2 separate regions of the Homo sapiens genome follow, and region 1 is linked to region 2. Evidence: promoter capture Hi-C in 16 types of primary human blood cells and fetal thymus (Javierre and others, 2016). All regions are on one chromosome and are shown on one strand. The core of a region is centred on a gene start or on the middle of the fragment in contact, and the rest is flanking DNA. Distances in the headings are between cores, read along the strand shown.

The links. Contacts are between HindIII fragments. The CHiCAGO score rates a contact against its expected background, and 5 or more counts as called.
Region 1: the fragment with the promoter of BRD1 here is called in contact with a fragment that was not itself captured in region 2 in 1 of 17 cell types (erythroblasts); the score reaches 5.7 in erythroblasts.

Annotation. Positions count from the first base shown.
Region 1 is chr22:49,826,078-49,833,588 of GRCh38, forward strand. BRD1 (bromodomain containing 1) reads right to left here and starts at 1,796. Exons shown (of 13, transcript NM_001304808.3): 1 at 1,420-1,796. It overlaps LOC105377205 (a long non-coding RNA gene), which reads right to left. Exons shown (of 5, transcript NR_188597.1): 5 at 6,372-7,511. RefSeq lists an enhancer at 261-460 and silencers at 961-1,130, 1,861-1,930. The HindIII fragment of the contact is 34,147 bases long and covers 1-7,511 here.
Region 2 is chr22:50,189,389-50,195,278 of GRCh38, forward strand. It overlaps TRABD (TraB domain containing), which reads left to right. Exons shown (of 10, transcript NM_001320485.2): 2 at 3,639-3,705; 3 at 4,188-4,266; 4 at 4,952-5,118; 5 at 5,512-5,652. The coding sequence starts at 3,673. Among named protein-coding and RNA genes, the nearest start is that of TRABD, 6.4 kb to the left of the region's middle. RefSeq lists enhancers at 267-881, 882-1,496, 1,182-1,541, 1,812-2,031, 2,222-2,371 and 3 more and a silencer at 2,522-2,571. The HindIII fragment of the contact is 1,058 bases long and covers 916-1,973 here.

The sequences.
Region 1 (7,511 bases), core at 546-3,045, 360 kb before region 2:
CGACCCTAGTGCACCCGGGACGCCGACACGCGTCATTACTGAGGTGGGGCAGAAGCAACAGTTGGTTACTCACCAGATCAGAAACGAACCTGTCATTTTCCCCTCGACAGCAAAGTCCTGAGTCGCCCTAACGACAAGCAGCCCCTGGAAACCCACTCTCTCCCAGGGAGCCGTGAAGCTCTTCATCGCAACACTTTCTACAAGGGGAGAACTGAACCGAAGGCTTCACGGCCACAGCAGCTCCATACCCTCAACATGCAACTGGGACCCGGGGAAAGTAGGCCCTCAGCAGGGCAGGGCGACCCACGACCTCCTCTGCTTCACCGCTTCCCCCCTGGGCCGGTTCTGTCCCTGGCCCTTCCACTGGGACAAGCATTTCCACTGGGAGGGATCCGCGGGGGCACACACGTAGCTTCTCAAGGAATAATTCCCTTAAGTACATCGAAGAGCCCTGCGGGCCACAGGCGGGGAAGGCTGCCCACAAGACGGCCGCTTCCATCTTCCCACCGCCCGCCCAGGGAGAAGCCGGCCACGCGCCGGGCCTCTCGGTCAAGGCCACAGGGGCCGCGGCCGCTGAGCTGTGCGAAGTTGTGTGCAGCACACAGCACTCGGGACGGCGCTGGGCCGGCCAAACAAAAACATCCGCCGATTCCACTAACTACACAACCACCTGGCGACAGACCCTCAAAAACAGACACGGGCGGCCGCGCTTTCTGGGGAGACGGGGCCGCACCCCGCGGGGCAGGGGGTCCCGCTGCTACGGATTCTCAGAACTCCCGCGTCCGCTCACAAGAGCCGCGTTTCCCGTGAACTGCGCCTCAATCGTGTCACTCGTTTTAAAAGGCCCGGGGAAGCCTCGCGTTCGTCGCGAGGCGTCTCCCTGCAAACGCCCGGGGAGGCCGCGGTGCCGGTTCCCAAGCCCGGCCGCCGCAGGCCGCGCGGCTCCTGGGCGATCTCGGGGCGCGTCCCTGCTCACAGGGAGTTCCCGTCTTGGCAGAGCTCGGCGGGCCTGTCTGTTACATAAGGGGCGGCCCGGCCGGCTCGGCGGCTGCCCGAGGCCCGACCCGACTCGAGCGCGGACTCCGGGCAGGCGCCCGCGGCCCAGGCCGCCGAGACCCACAGCCCGACTCGGCCTCCCTCGACTCCCCGGCCTGACCTACCCGGTCTCCCCGCCCGGCCTCCCCGTCTTCCCGCCCGTCTCCCCGGCCGCCCGGCCCGACCTCCCCGGTCTCCCCGCCCGGCCTCCCCGGCATCCCGGGCTCCCGGCCCGCAGACAATGCGGAGCCGCCGCCGCCGCCGCCGCCGCCAAACATGGCGTCGGCACCACAACCCCGAGAGGCCGGGCCGAGGCGGCGGCGGCGGCCGGGCGGCCCGCGAGGCGGCGGGGAGGCCTCCCCGGCCAGGCCCCCGCCCACTCACCTTCGGGGCGCCGCGGCCGCGGGAGCCCGGCAAGCGGGCGGGCGCGGGGGCCGGCGCGGCCGAGGCGGTGCTAATGGCGCCCGCGGCTCCTCCGCCAACGGCCGCGCAGGCCGGGCCCCGCCGCCGCTCCTGGGCGCGGGCCCCTCTCGGCCGCGGCGGCTCCGGGCCCGGCAGCGGCGGCCGCGGACTCTCGGGCAGCGGCTCGCGCGGCGCGGGCTCGGGCTCGGGGCCCAGCTGGAGGCCCGGCTCGGGGGGCCCGGCCGGCGGGCGCGGGCGCGGGCGCGGGAGCGGGCGGCGGGCGGCGGGCGCGGGACGCGGGGCTGGCTCGGACTCCAGGGCCGGGTCGCTCGCTCGCTCCCCAGCGAAGCAAACAATGCGGCGAGCGCTCCGCCCGGCGCGCTGCGTGCGAGACGCGCCCCGCCCGCCGCCGCCATGACGCGCGGACTCCGCTGCCTCGGCCGCGCGCGGGGGAGGGGGCGCCGCGAGGAGCGGGGGCCAAAGGGGGCCCTGAGGCGGCGGGGACCGGGCTGGGAGTGGGGGGTCGGGAGGATGGAGAGTGGGGGCCCTTGAGTTAGGGAGGACCGGGCCAGAAGGTCCCTGAGGGGGTCAGGAGGATGGAGAATGAGGGGCCCTGAGGCAGGGGGACGTAGGCCTAGGAGTGGGGGGCCCCGAGGCAGGTGGGGAGCAGCCGGGAGTCGGGGGCTTTGAAGCAGGGGGGTACCGGCTGGGAGTGGGGGTCCCTGAGGCAGAAGGGCATTGGCCCAGGAGTGGGGTCGCTGAGGCAGGAGATGGCCCAGGAGTGGGCGGCTCTGAGGCAGGGGCTACCACCGGCCTGGAGTGGGGGGCCCACAGGCGGGGGGACGGGCCGGGAGTGGGGGTACCTGAGGCAGAAGGACATTGGCCCGGGAGTGGGGGGCCCCGAGGCAGGATGGGGGAGCAGCCGCCAGTCGGGGGCCCTGACGGGGGAACGGCCAGGAGTGGGGGTCCCTGAGGCGGGGGGGACCAGCTGAGAGTGGGAGTCCCTGAGGCAGAAGGCCATTGGCCCAGGAATGGGGGGCCCTGAGGCAGGGGGCGATTGGCCCACGAGTTGGTGGGGGCCTGAGGCAGGGGGCGATTGGCCCACGAGTGGGGGGAGGCCTGAGGCAGGGGGCGATTGGCCCATGAGTGGGGGGCCCTGAGGCAGGAGGCTATTGGTCCGGGAGTGGAGGTCCCTAAGAGGACAGAGGGGGCCCTGCGGGGGCACTGGGTGGGAGTGGAAAGGGCACTGGCCGGGACACGCGACTAGGTAGAGGTGGGTGGTGCAGCCGGGCTGGGGAGCCTCCCCTAGTGAGTGTCAGGCCCGGTGTGCAAGTAGTCCTGCCAGTGTGAGGGCCCTGCCGAGGCCGGCGTGAAGCAGATGCCCTTTAAGGTTGCAAGAAAAGGCCCCTGCGGGTGGGAGTTGAGAGGCCTGAGTCTCTGCCTTCACTTTGGCCTTTTGTGTAAACTCTAAAATTCAGTGGGGTCATAACAATTTTCACTCCAAGATTAAATCCCAAATGTTTTAAGGTGAGGCAGGAGCTCCTTGGTTTCCTTGAGAATTTGTGATCAGGACGATGGTGCTGTGGAATCCCTGGGTTCCAGCAGCACAGCCTGTGGCATCCAGGCAGGCCCCTCAGGAAGAGCAGCTGTCCACCCTGGGACAGACCGTCCCCACGGGGGCAGCCGAGCGGCCCCACTGCTCGGGGCACTGCACCAAACACCTTATTGGGAGTGGGGTGGCCTTGTTCGCCCAAGTGTCCCTGATAGGGGCCAGGCCCCACAGGCCTTTTCCTGGCCAGTCCTCATGCCCATGGCACCCAGTGTGTGGGTTGTGACGTGACGACTCAAGGGCAGGTAGGACCCCAGCCAAGGCCCCAGTGGTCAGTCCTGATCTAGGACTCCCTGCAGACACACCCTTGAGCTTAGGGGGTACAGGCCACTGGGGCCCTGACCTCTTCTGCACCAGACCCAGGAGCTTCGTGTCACCTCCATTCTACAGATGTCTGTTTACCTGTGGCCAAACAAGCAAGCTGAGCCCGAACGCTTCTCTCCTCCACCTCAGGGAAGCCAGATGGAAACCAAGCTGGAGGTTCTCCACAACACAGAGCAAAAGTAAGACACAGTCTCATGAAAGAGAAGATGAAAAGACACGAAACCCTTCACAGAAGAGGAGACGGGGACAGTGGCCTCTCAGACAATGCAGGTGATGCTCAGAGGAGTGAAGAACAAAGCCTCGAACGTAGGCATGTCACAGGGATACTCAGGAAGGCCTTCGGAGAGGATCTTCTTTAGAATTCAGACTCATCCTACAGAGGAGGGGTTGCCAAAATACTAAGAGAATTGAACCGTAACTCATACACAGTGAAACTAGCGTTCCAGTGAGACAGCAAAATAAAGGTGTCTTCACCGCCGGTTAACATCCACATTTACCACACACGCAGTCTGTAAAAGTACTAGAAGAAATACCTTAACAAAGTGAAAAGTGGACCCAAGAGTAAGACGTGGATGCCAGCAAGTAAATCAGTCTGGTCCGTTAAAAGAAAATCAACCTGAGAGAAATCCCGGATGAACTCAACATGACACATGGTAAGGCGGGGCGCAGAAGGAAGTGAAAGTGCACGAAAGCTCTTGTATTGTTTGGTTCGAGGATTTTAGAATCGATAGAAAAAAAGGTTAAAAATTTTAGCTGGGCATGGTGGCTCACACCTGTAATCCCAGCACTTTGGGAGGCCGAGGCGGGCAGACTACCTGAGGTCGGGAGTTCAAGACCAGCCTGATCAACATGGAGAAACCCCATCTCTACTAAAAATACAAAAAAAAAAAAATTAGCCGGGCGTGGCGGCGCATGCCTGTAATCCCACTACTTGGGAGGCTGAGGCAGGAGAATTGGTTGAAACTGGGAGGTGGAGGTTACAGTGAGCTGAGATGGTGCCATTGCACTCCAGCCTGGGCAACAAGAGCAAAACTCCATCTCAAAAAAACAAAAAAAAAAAGTTTTAACTATCAGAAAGTTTCCACAAGAATGGTGGAAAAAGAATTTACCACTTTCAGAACAGCTGAGGAAAAAGCGAAATGAAAAACGACAGCAGCAACAACAAAAAAAAAACAGGAATGAGTAAAAGATAAAATCATGATAAATACAGAACATAATATGAGTTGGCAGAACTAAGTTCAAACATTTGAGTAATCAGAGGAATGTGATTGGATTAAATGCATCTATTAAAAGACAACCTCTCTGAATGGAATATAAATATGGTGAAATATTCTTACAAGAAATTCACCTGAAAAATAACAGATGAAAAATAAAACGATGGGGCCAGGCACAGTGGCTCATGCCTGTAATCCCAACACTTTGGGAGACCGAGGCAGGTGCATCACCTGAGGTCAGGAGTTCAAGACCTGACCAACATAGTGAAACCCCATCTCTACTAAAAATAGAAAAATTAGCCAGGCATGGGGGCACGTGCCTGTAATCCCAGCTACTCAGGAGGCTGAGGCAGGAGAATCACTTGAACCCAGGAGGCTGAGGTTGCAGTGAGGCAAGATTGCCCCACTGCACTCCAGCCTGAGTGACAGAGCAAGACTCCATTTCGTAAATGAAAGGATGGAAATTATCATATGTTTGTTCCTCAAAAGGCACCATAAAGAGACTGAAGAATGAAAAACTAAAAGATATGTACACCTTGCAGATGATTAGTATTTAGAATATATAGAGAACCCCTTCAGATCCATTAGAAAGAGACAAACAAGCCAACAAAATGATGCACAAAACCCAAATCAACAAAGAAACCCATGTCATAATCAGGCTTCTTGCAGAGAACATGGAAAGGCCAATCATCTTACTAGTAAATTTGGAAATGCAAACAAAATACACACCAAATAGGCACCAGCGTTCATATGTGGCAATACTCAGCGATGGCAAGATGGCAGAGCAATACCCTGCTGGCCAGAATGTCGAGTGGGACAATTATTTGGTAAATATCTTGGTCATAAGGCGTTACCCAGTGAAAGTGGACATGTTTATCAGTTACCTCTTGCTGCAAAACAAACCACCCCCAAAACTTTGTAGCTCAAAACAGCAGTCATTCCTTTTGTTCACACATCTGCTATTTGGGCAGGATTCAGCAGGTACAACTAGACTACTTCCTGCATCCTTATCTGGGGCACCTCCACTAGGGGCTGGAGGAGCCACTTCCAAGATGGTGCACTCACGTGGCTGGGACCTTGATCCAGGCTCTGGGCTGAGGGCCTTGGGAACATCCTCATGGAATAGTAGCCATGCTGCAGGAGCAAGGGTCTCAAGAGAAGCAGGTGGGACCTGTATCACTTTTCACATCCTAGCTTCTGAAGTCACACGCATCACTTCTGCCATAGGGACAAGCCTGTCCAGATTCAAGAGTTAGGGAGAATACAGACCCCACCTCTTGGGACATGTGTTATCATCACATTTTAAGAGAAGCATGCTGTATGGGAGAAGTTGTTGTGGCCACTTTGAGAAGATGCAAGCTCCCCCAGTGTGCATACCCATTCCCGGCTGTAGGGTTAAGTCAATTTGTATTCCTAGGTGCATTCCGTGCCTGGGTGTGTGCCTAAGAAACCTGTTCATCAGGGCCGGGCGCCGTGGCTCACGCCTGTAATCCCAGCAGTTTGGGAGGCTGAGGCAGGCAGATCATGAGGTCAGGAGATTGAGACCATCCTGGCTAACACGGTGAAACCCCATCTCTACTAAAAATACAAAAAATTAGCCAGGAGGCTGAGGCAGGAGAATGGTGTGAACCCAGGAGGCAGAGTTTGCAGTGAGCAGAGATTGCGCCACTGCACTCCAGCCTGGGCAACAGAGCAAGACTCCATCTAAAAAAAAAAAAAAAAAAAGAAAAGAAAAAAAGAAACTTGTTCATCAGGAAGCATGTGCATGAATGTTCAGAGCAACACTGTTTTTGGTGTTTTTTTTTTTTTATTTTAACGCTGTTTTTAATAGCAAATACTGGGAGAAATCTTAAATATCAAAGGACGGTAAAATGGACAAAGTGAGGTGTATCCACGCAATGGAATAGCACACAGCAACAGAAATGAATGAATTCCACCACCAACACGGCCAAATCTCAAACACATAATTTTAAATGGAAGAAAGAAATCTCAAAAGATTACAGAATATGATTCCATTTACACTCAGCAGACAGAGCTAGGAAATAAGTATGTACAAACACACACACACACACACACACACACACACACACACACACACACACACCCATATCTTTTCTGATACCTCTTAGCAAACCTTGAGTTCATACTGATACCTGTACCTCCAGTTACAATCTAGCATGGAGTTGATTCTACCCTCCTCTGTTTCTACATAACTATCTATGCCTTCACTTAGTAGCTCAGTCCCCCGCTACATAACCATCTCTAGGCTATACAGGACAGAAACTTGGCCCCAGACACAACCACTGCCCCCCATTTTGCACCAGCCAAAAATGCGGTTCTGGGGGCATCACTGCTCTCCAGAATGGTTATATCTGCAGGCTGAAAGCACAGCCCAAGAAAAGGCAAGGAGGAGGATGCTCATGTTGTTTCTGATATTCTGTTTCTGGCAGGAATAAGACAAAACCCTTCTTCTTTGATCTATCTCACCTTTAATTTATTTAATTTTTATTTTTACCCGGTATCTGCAACAATCTACTTTAGGAGACTATCCTTTCACAAACATTAAAACGTTCTTTAAATGGTGTTTTTCTCACTTCAGAATTCAGGAAAAATAGTTTTACTGACATTTACTTTTAATAAAAACGTAGTAATTTGCATTGTTGCAGTAGAAATTTGTCCTCCTTGTCACCAGGATATAATCAGACAAATTAATAGTGGAGCCCAGGCCTTACATGGGTGTCATATTTGAGAATAACTTTCCTGTGCTTCCACAACACGCCCACCTTTAAGGAACAAGGGTTGTGGCTTGTGTGCTGAACCAATGCCCACACAACCCTCAGACCCATACTGGCCGGGCACCTGTACTCTGGCACACAAAGCCTCAGCCTCACAAGTAGTAAGAAGGATACTTCCTGGCAGGCCAAGAG
Region 2 (5,890 bases), core at 195-2,694:
TGTTCAGCACCCACCCCAGTCCTGCTCGGTGGACGTCCGTGCGGGGCAGGGAGAGTGAAGCACAGCTGGTCTGATACAAGCGTCTGGCTTCCTGCCAGGCTGCACCGCTTCCCAGCGGGTTGGCCTTGCAGGTAACAAGGCCAGAAGCCACTGCGAGGTTCCCTGGGGCAGTGCCAGCACTGGGGATTTGGGAAGGAGAGATGTCTGTCCCCCCGGAGGGGCAGCCAGGGTCTGCTGGTCTCTGCTGATGGGCCTGAGCGTATCTGAAAAGGACAGGTAGAAAGGGGGTGGCTGCAGCGTGCGCTGGCCGGACCCCAGGTGATGCTCTGCTGGGACCCAGAGGGGGTGGCTGCAGTGTGTGCTGGCCGGACCCCAGGTGATGCTCTGCTGGGACCCAGAGGGGGTGGCTGCAGTGTGTGCTGGCCGGACCCCAGGTGATGCTCTGCTGGGACCCAGAGGTTGTGGGGCTGGGAACCAGGTGGGGGTTCTTCAGACATTGTCTCTGAAGACACTTCAGAGTCCAGGCTCAGCATCTGTGGCTTTTGGGCCAGGGCCTTTTGCTCACCGCCAGGCAGCTGGGAGAGGCTCTGGGCCCAGCCATAAATGTCTGAGAGCACAGCTGCCTGGGAGCAGACTAGAGGGAGGAGGGCTGGTAACCTGAAATCACACCCTAGAGCTCTCCAGGGGCCTTGGCGAGGAGGGAAAGAGAGTGTTGAGACTGTAAGAGTGACTGTCAGAGACGTCCCCCAGAATCACGGGCTTTAGGTGCTGGGGGGTCCTCAGTGACCTTCCCGCCTGGCTCCCTGCGGGCAGCACGCCTCTGCTGAGAGGCTGCAGGGGCCAGGGCTGGGGGCTGGCACTGCCTCTGGTGGCGCTGACATCGTCCTGCTCAAGGCTTGGCAGCCGGCCCAGGAAAGCTTCTCTGCCCTCCCTGACAGGAGACCTGTGCACGCCCACCCCATGGCACGACTGGGGTCAGGACCAGCGCCTGCTGCTGCACCGAGACCCTGCCCTGTCCATGGCCACAGGCGTACCCTAGGCCGGCCTCAGAGGCGGGTCTGGCCAGGCTGGGTGGAGGGTGGGGGCTGACCGCAGACCTGGGGCTGCCACACCCATGGGGGAAGGGCTGTGGCGACGTGGGCGCCTCCTGTTGGCTGGGCCGACGCAGCCTCCCGCCCGGCTGCACAGGAGTTTCTTTAAGGAGTTTCCCCGGTGTGCCTCGGCAGCCTTGCGCTGCTCTAATGGTCCGGACTTCCGTGTGTGAGTTTCCCCCGTGCGCCCCGGCAGTCTTGCGCTGCTCCTAAGAGTTCTGGCTTGTGTGTGTAGCTAGACCCAGGGAGGCGGCCGTCTCCCGGACCGGGTGCTTGTCTGGGCTGGCTGGCCTGGCGGCTGCTCACAACAGCTTCCGGTGGGTTCCGGTCGGGTTGCATCGTGGAGCTTTCACCTACAAAAGGGGAAGGAGGCGGCCCAAGGGTCCGGGGCCTGGTCCTGCTGTGACCGGTGCCAGCTGCACTTCCTGGATGTGCCAACCGCTAAGACGCCCAGGCCAGGGTTGGGTCCAGACTCAAGCCCAGGTGGCAAGGAGTGGGACCCCCTGCCAAGGCTGTGAGGCCCCATAGGGGAGCCTGCCTGTGGAGCGGGCCCCCCTTGCCCTCTGCAGAGGCTCAAGGCCCCCGGGGACATGAGCCTGGTGTTTATCAGCTGTCTCCTTAGTCTCAGCTGACCTCCCCCGACCATGGCCCCATTGCACCACCCACCCCAAGCCAGGCCAGTTCCTCTCCCAGAAGTCCCGGCTGTCCAAGAAGAGGGCAGGGTGGGCTGCCCTCTTCTCGGCCAGCTTCAGATGGGGCCTCTGGTTGCACTGAGACAGGCCTCTTCCCCTGCTCAGAGCCGTCCCTGCTCCCCCAGCCCCTGAGCTGCCCTCCTAGACACTGCACAGAGAGCTCCTTCCTGTTCACAGGTTAGGACACCCAAGCTTGGAGGCATCTTAACTTGGATGTGGGTGGCCAGGACCCAGCTGGGTCTGTGAGTCCTGGCTGGGGCCGAGGTCTGTGCCTGCTGTGGCTGTGTGCCAACAGGGTTTGCAGAGGAAAGGAACCTGACATAGCGTCTTATTGCTCATTGTTCCTTTTTCTTATGAGTTCTGAGAAGTGGGCAGCAGTAGTGACATGAAAATGACCCCAGATGCACGCAGGCATCAGTGCAGAACCCGGCAGTGGCCCCTCTGAAGCACATCCTACAAGCCCCGTCGTTTCCTCGCCAGATGCTCGTGTCTGACTGACGCAGACGCTTCAAGACAAAACCACAATACCTTGCACGACTAGACAGCTCAGAATGGTTTCCAACGGCTCATTTTTATTTTTTACTTTTGTTTTTTTCTTGAGACAGAGTCTCCCTCTGTCACCCAGGTTGGAGTGCAGTGACAGGATCTCGGCTCACTGCAACCTCAGCCTCTCGGGTTCAAAGTGATTCTCCTGCCTCAGCCTCCCCAGTAGCTGGGATTACGGGTGTGCACCACCACGCCTGGCTAATTTGTGTATTTTTGGTAGAGATGGGGTTTCACCAGGATGGTCTATGTTGGCCAGGCTGGTCTCGAACTCCTGAGCTCAGGCAGTCCATCCACCTTGGCCCCCCAAAGTGCTGGGATTACAGGTGTGAGCCACCGCGCCTGGCCTGTTTGGGATATTTTAATGATTCTGCCTGGTGACACATCCATCCGCCAGGACATGCATGAGCCATTAACTTGGTAAACAGTCACTCCTGGCATTCCGTGGCTGAGAACATTCAGGAAGAGCCACATGGTGCAGCAGGGCCTGTGGCCAGTCTCAGGACAGCCTGCTGGTCCCTGGCCCCGCCTCGAGGGGCTCCGCGCAGGTCTCGCCGATGCTCTGTGGGTCTTGGCCGGTGCGTGCCTCTGGTGCTGCAGGCGCCTGGCTGTTTTCTTCCTTCCCTCAGGCTCCTGGGCCCCCGGCCTGAGCTCCTGGTTTCTGAGAGTCTGTGGGGAGCTGTGATGCCTCGGGGCAGCCCCCTCGTGTGGCTGCCCCAGCCTGTCCGGGTTTCTACCGTGGTTCCTTCCACACCATGTTTGTCTCTTAAAGTGGGAGAGAAGGTCTTAGGTCCAAACACGTTGATTTGTGTGCTTTGTGGATTCCTCCGTCTGTACTGACTCTGTGCCGGTGTTGTTGCCCAGGCTGTAGTTACTGAAAGGGGAAGTGGCTTTTGTACAAAGGCCCTGGGGTCCTTGCCATGTGTCAGCAGCTGCGTTGCTGTGTCCTGAGATCATGTGTGGACCCCAGGGCTGCCTTCCTATGTGTGCCCGCCGTGCCGCAGTGAGGGTTGGGCAGCTCTGGCCCTGTTCTGAGTGAGGCCTGTGCACCAGCAACCCGCCCTGGGCCCGTCTGCGTTTGGTTTATGCTGGGGTGTCTGGGGACCTGCTGGCCTTTCCCCACCCGGGCCTGACCTGAACCGACCCTGGACCTCAGCAGCCTTTGATGGGCAGGAGGCATTTGGGGATATGGGGGAAGGAGCCCCCAGGCCCACCCAACAGATGGTTCTAGACTGACAGGGCACTACGCAGTGAGTCCTGAGCCAGGTCTGGGGCTCCAGGTGGAAACCCCGCCTCTCATGCCTCTCCTCAGGCTCCCCACAGGTGCAGGAAGCCGCCGCCCAGCCATGGACGGGGAGGAGCAGCAGCCACCGCACGAGGTGAGGTGGAGGCTGGGCTGGCTGCACAGAGACAGGGGCGGGGGGCTTCCCCGCTTTGTGGGCTCTCGGGGTCGGTCCCTGGCTGTTGTTCTGCAAAGGTGATCTTCACAGGGTTCTCCAGGGTCAGGCAGGAGGCACCTCCGAGGGAGAGGGGCGCTGGGCTGAGGTGGCCTGGTGGCCCTGTCTGCCCAGCTTGATGGCAGCCGTGCCAGTGATGGCCAAGCAGGAGGGGTACTGACAGTGTGGGGCCTAGGCTCTACGGAGGCCCTGCTTTTCAGGGTGTGTGGTACACAGAGCGGCCACGGGTCCCTTTCCCGGGTACGTGGTCCGTGGAGCGGTCACGGGCCCTCGTTTTTCAGGGTGTGTGGTCCACACAGCGGCCACGGGTCCCTTTCCAGGGTACGTGGTCCGTGGAGTTGCCACGGAGCCCTGGCTTTCTGGGGTGCATGGACCCTGACTTGAACTCTCCTTTCCACCTGCAGGCCAACGTGGAACCTGTTGTGCCGTCAGAGGCTTCAGAGCCGGTGCCCAGGGTGCTTTCTGGAGACCCCCAGAACCTGTGTACGTGTCCCTCAGGGTCCTGGCACGTTCCCCGGTGTTGGGCTGTTGAGTCAGGGAGGAGGGGGAGGCAGCCAACCACTGCCAGGGGCTTGGAGCTTGTGGTGAGCAGGGGCCCTGGCCGAGACCTGAGGTAGGTGCTGCTAGGCCTGGTGCCACCCAACAGCAGCTGCTCCTGGGCCCTGCCTGGCAGTGGAGCCTCTTGGAGGGGCTGCAAGCAGCACAGGCAGGCCCCTGGGCATGGGGGGCTCGTGAGCACAAGCAGTGTGAGCGGCACGGGAGTCCCTCCTTGCTGTGGCCTCAGCCTGTCCCTCCTGAGTGGGGTGGGGGGGCCCATTTCGCCTCAGAGCCCCTCCCCTAGCTGAGCCCCCTGCGGCACCTGCCCCCACTGTCCCCCACACCGAACCTCATCCACAGCAACCCCCAAGGTCGCCCTCATGGGGTGTATGGGGCACAGGACTCCTGAGGCCCTGGCTTCTCGAAGCCGTGCAGCTCACAGAGGTGGTAGCCGGTGTTCCCATCACTGGGCAGGCAAAGCCTGTGGAGTGTGACGCTCGTCAGGAGTCTTGTGCTCTGCACCTGTTCAGTTCTCAGAACCCAGGAGGGTTCTAGAGCCCAGGCTGCCAGCGGGCCCGGCGGCGTCCTTGGGGTGGGCCCGGCACCACAACGGCCTGTGCTGCTGTTGCAGCCGACGTGGACGCCTTCAACCTGCTCCTGGAGATGAAGCTGAAGCGGCGGCGTCAGCGGCCCAACCTGCCGCGCACTGTGACCCAGTTGGTGGCTGAGGACGGGAGCAGGGTGTACGTGGTGGGGACAGCCCACTTCAGCGACGACAGCAAGAGGGACGTTGTGAAGGTGAGCGCCGCCACCCGCCACATCCCGGACACGGGTTGGTGTAAGCTCCTGTGTCCTGCACTCAGGGACCTCCCGGCAGGGCCCGTGTGCCCGTGTGTGCGCACCGCAGGCCTCCTGCTTCAACACTGTGGTCCCTGGGAGTGGCAAGGTGGGCTTCCTGCCTGGGAGCCGTGACGGCCTTGTGCGTTTTCCCACTTAACAAGTGAACAAGCCTCACAGCTTCCTCTCTCGTCGCTTAGAGAATTGAGCTGTCACTGCAGCAGCGGGGTTAGCTAGCCCTGGGGTGACGCCAAGGCTGGCTGCTCCTGGGATGGGGCCCCTGGTGCTGGCGTCAGCTGTGCTGAGGGGCAGGGAGCGGCTGTGTTCTCGAGGTGTGACCTGTGGCTGTTGCAGACCATCCGGGAGGTGCAGCCTGACGTGGTGGTCGTGGAGCTCTGCCAATATCGTGTGTCCATGCTGAAGATGGACGAGAGCACGCTGCTGCGGGAGGCCCAGGAGCTCAGCCTGGAGAAGCTGCAGCAGGCCGTGAGGCAGGTGCGCAGCCGCGGGCAAGGGTCAGGGTCAGGGTCGGGGTCAAAGCCACCTGTTTGCCTGTTGCCCAGGTTCCTCTCACAGCCCATGCCCCCAGTCAGTGTGGCTGTGCCTGGCCTGCCCTGGGGATTGCCGGGTTAGGGACCTCCCCTGGGCCAGGAGAAATGAAAGAGGCTCCATTACCCGGTTTCAGGCAAGGGAGGAGGAAATGGGTGGCTCTCCAAGCTGAGGCAGGGGCTGG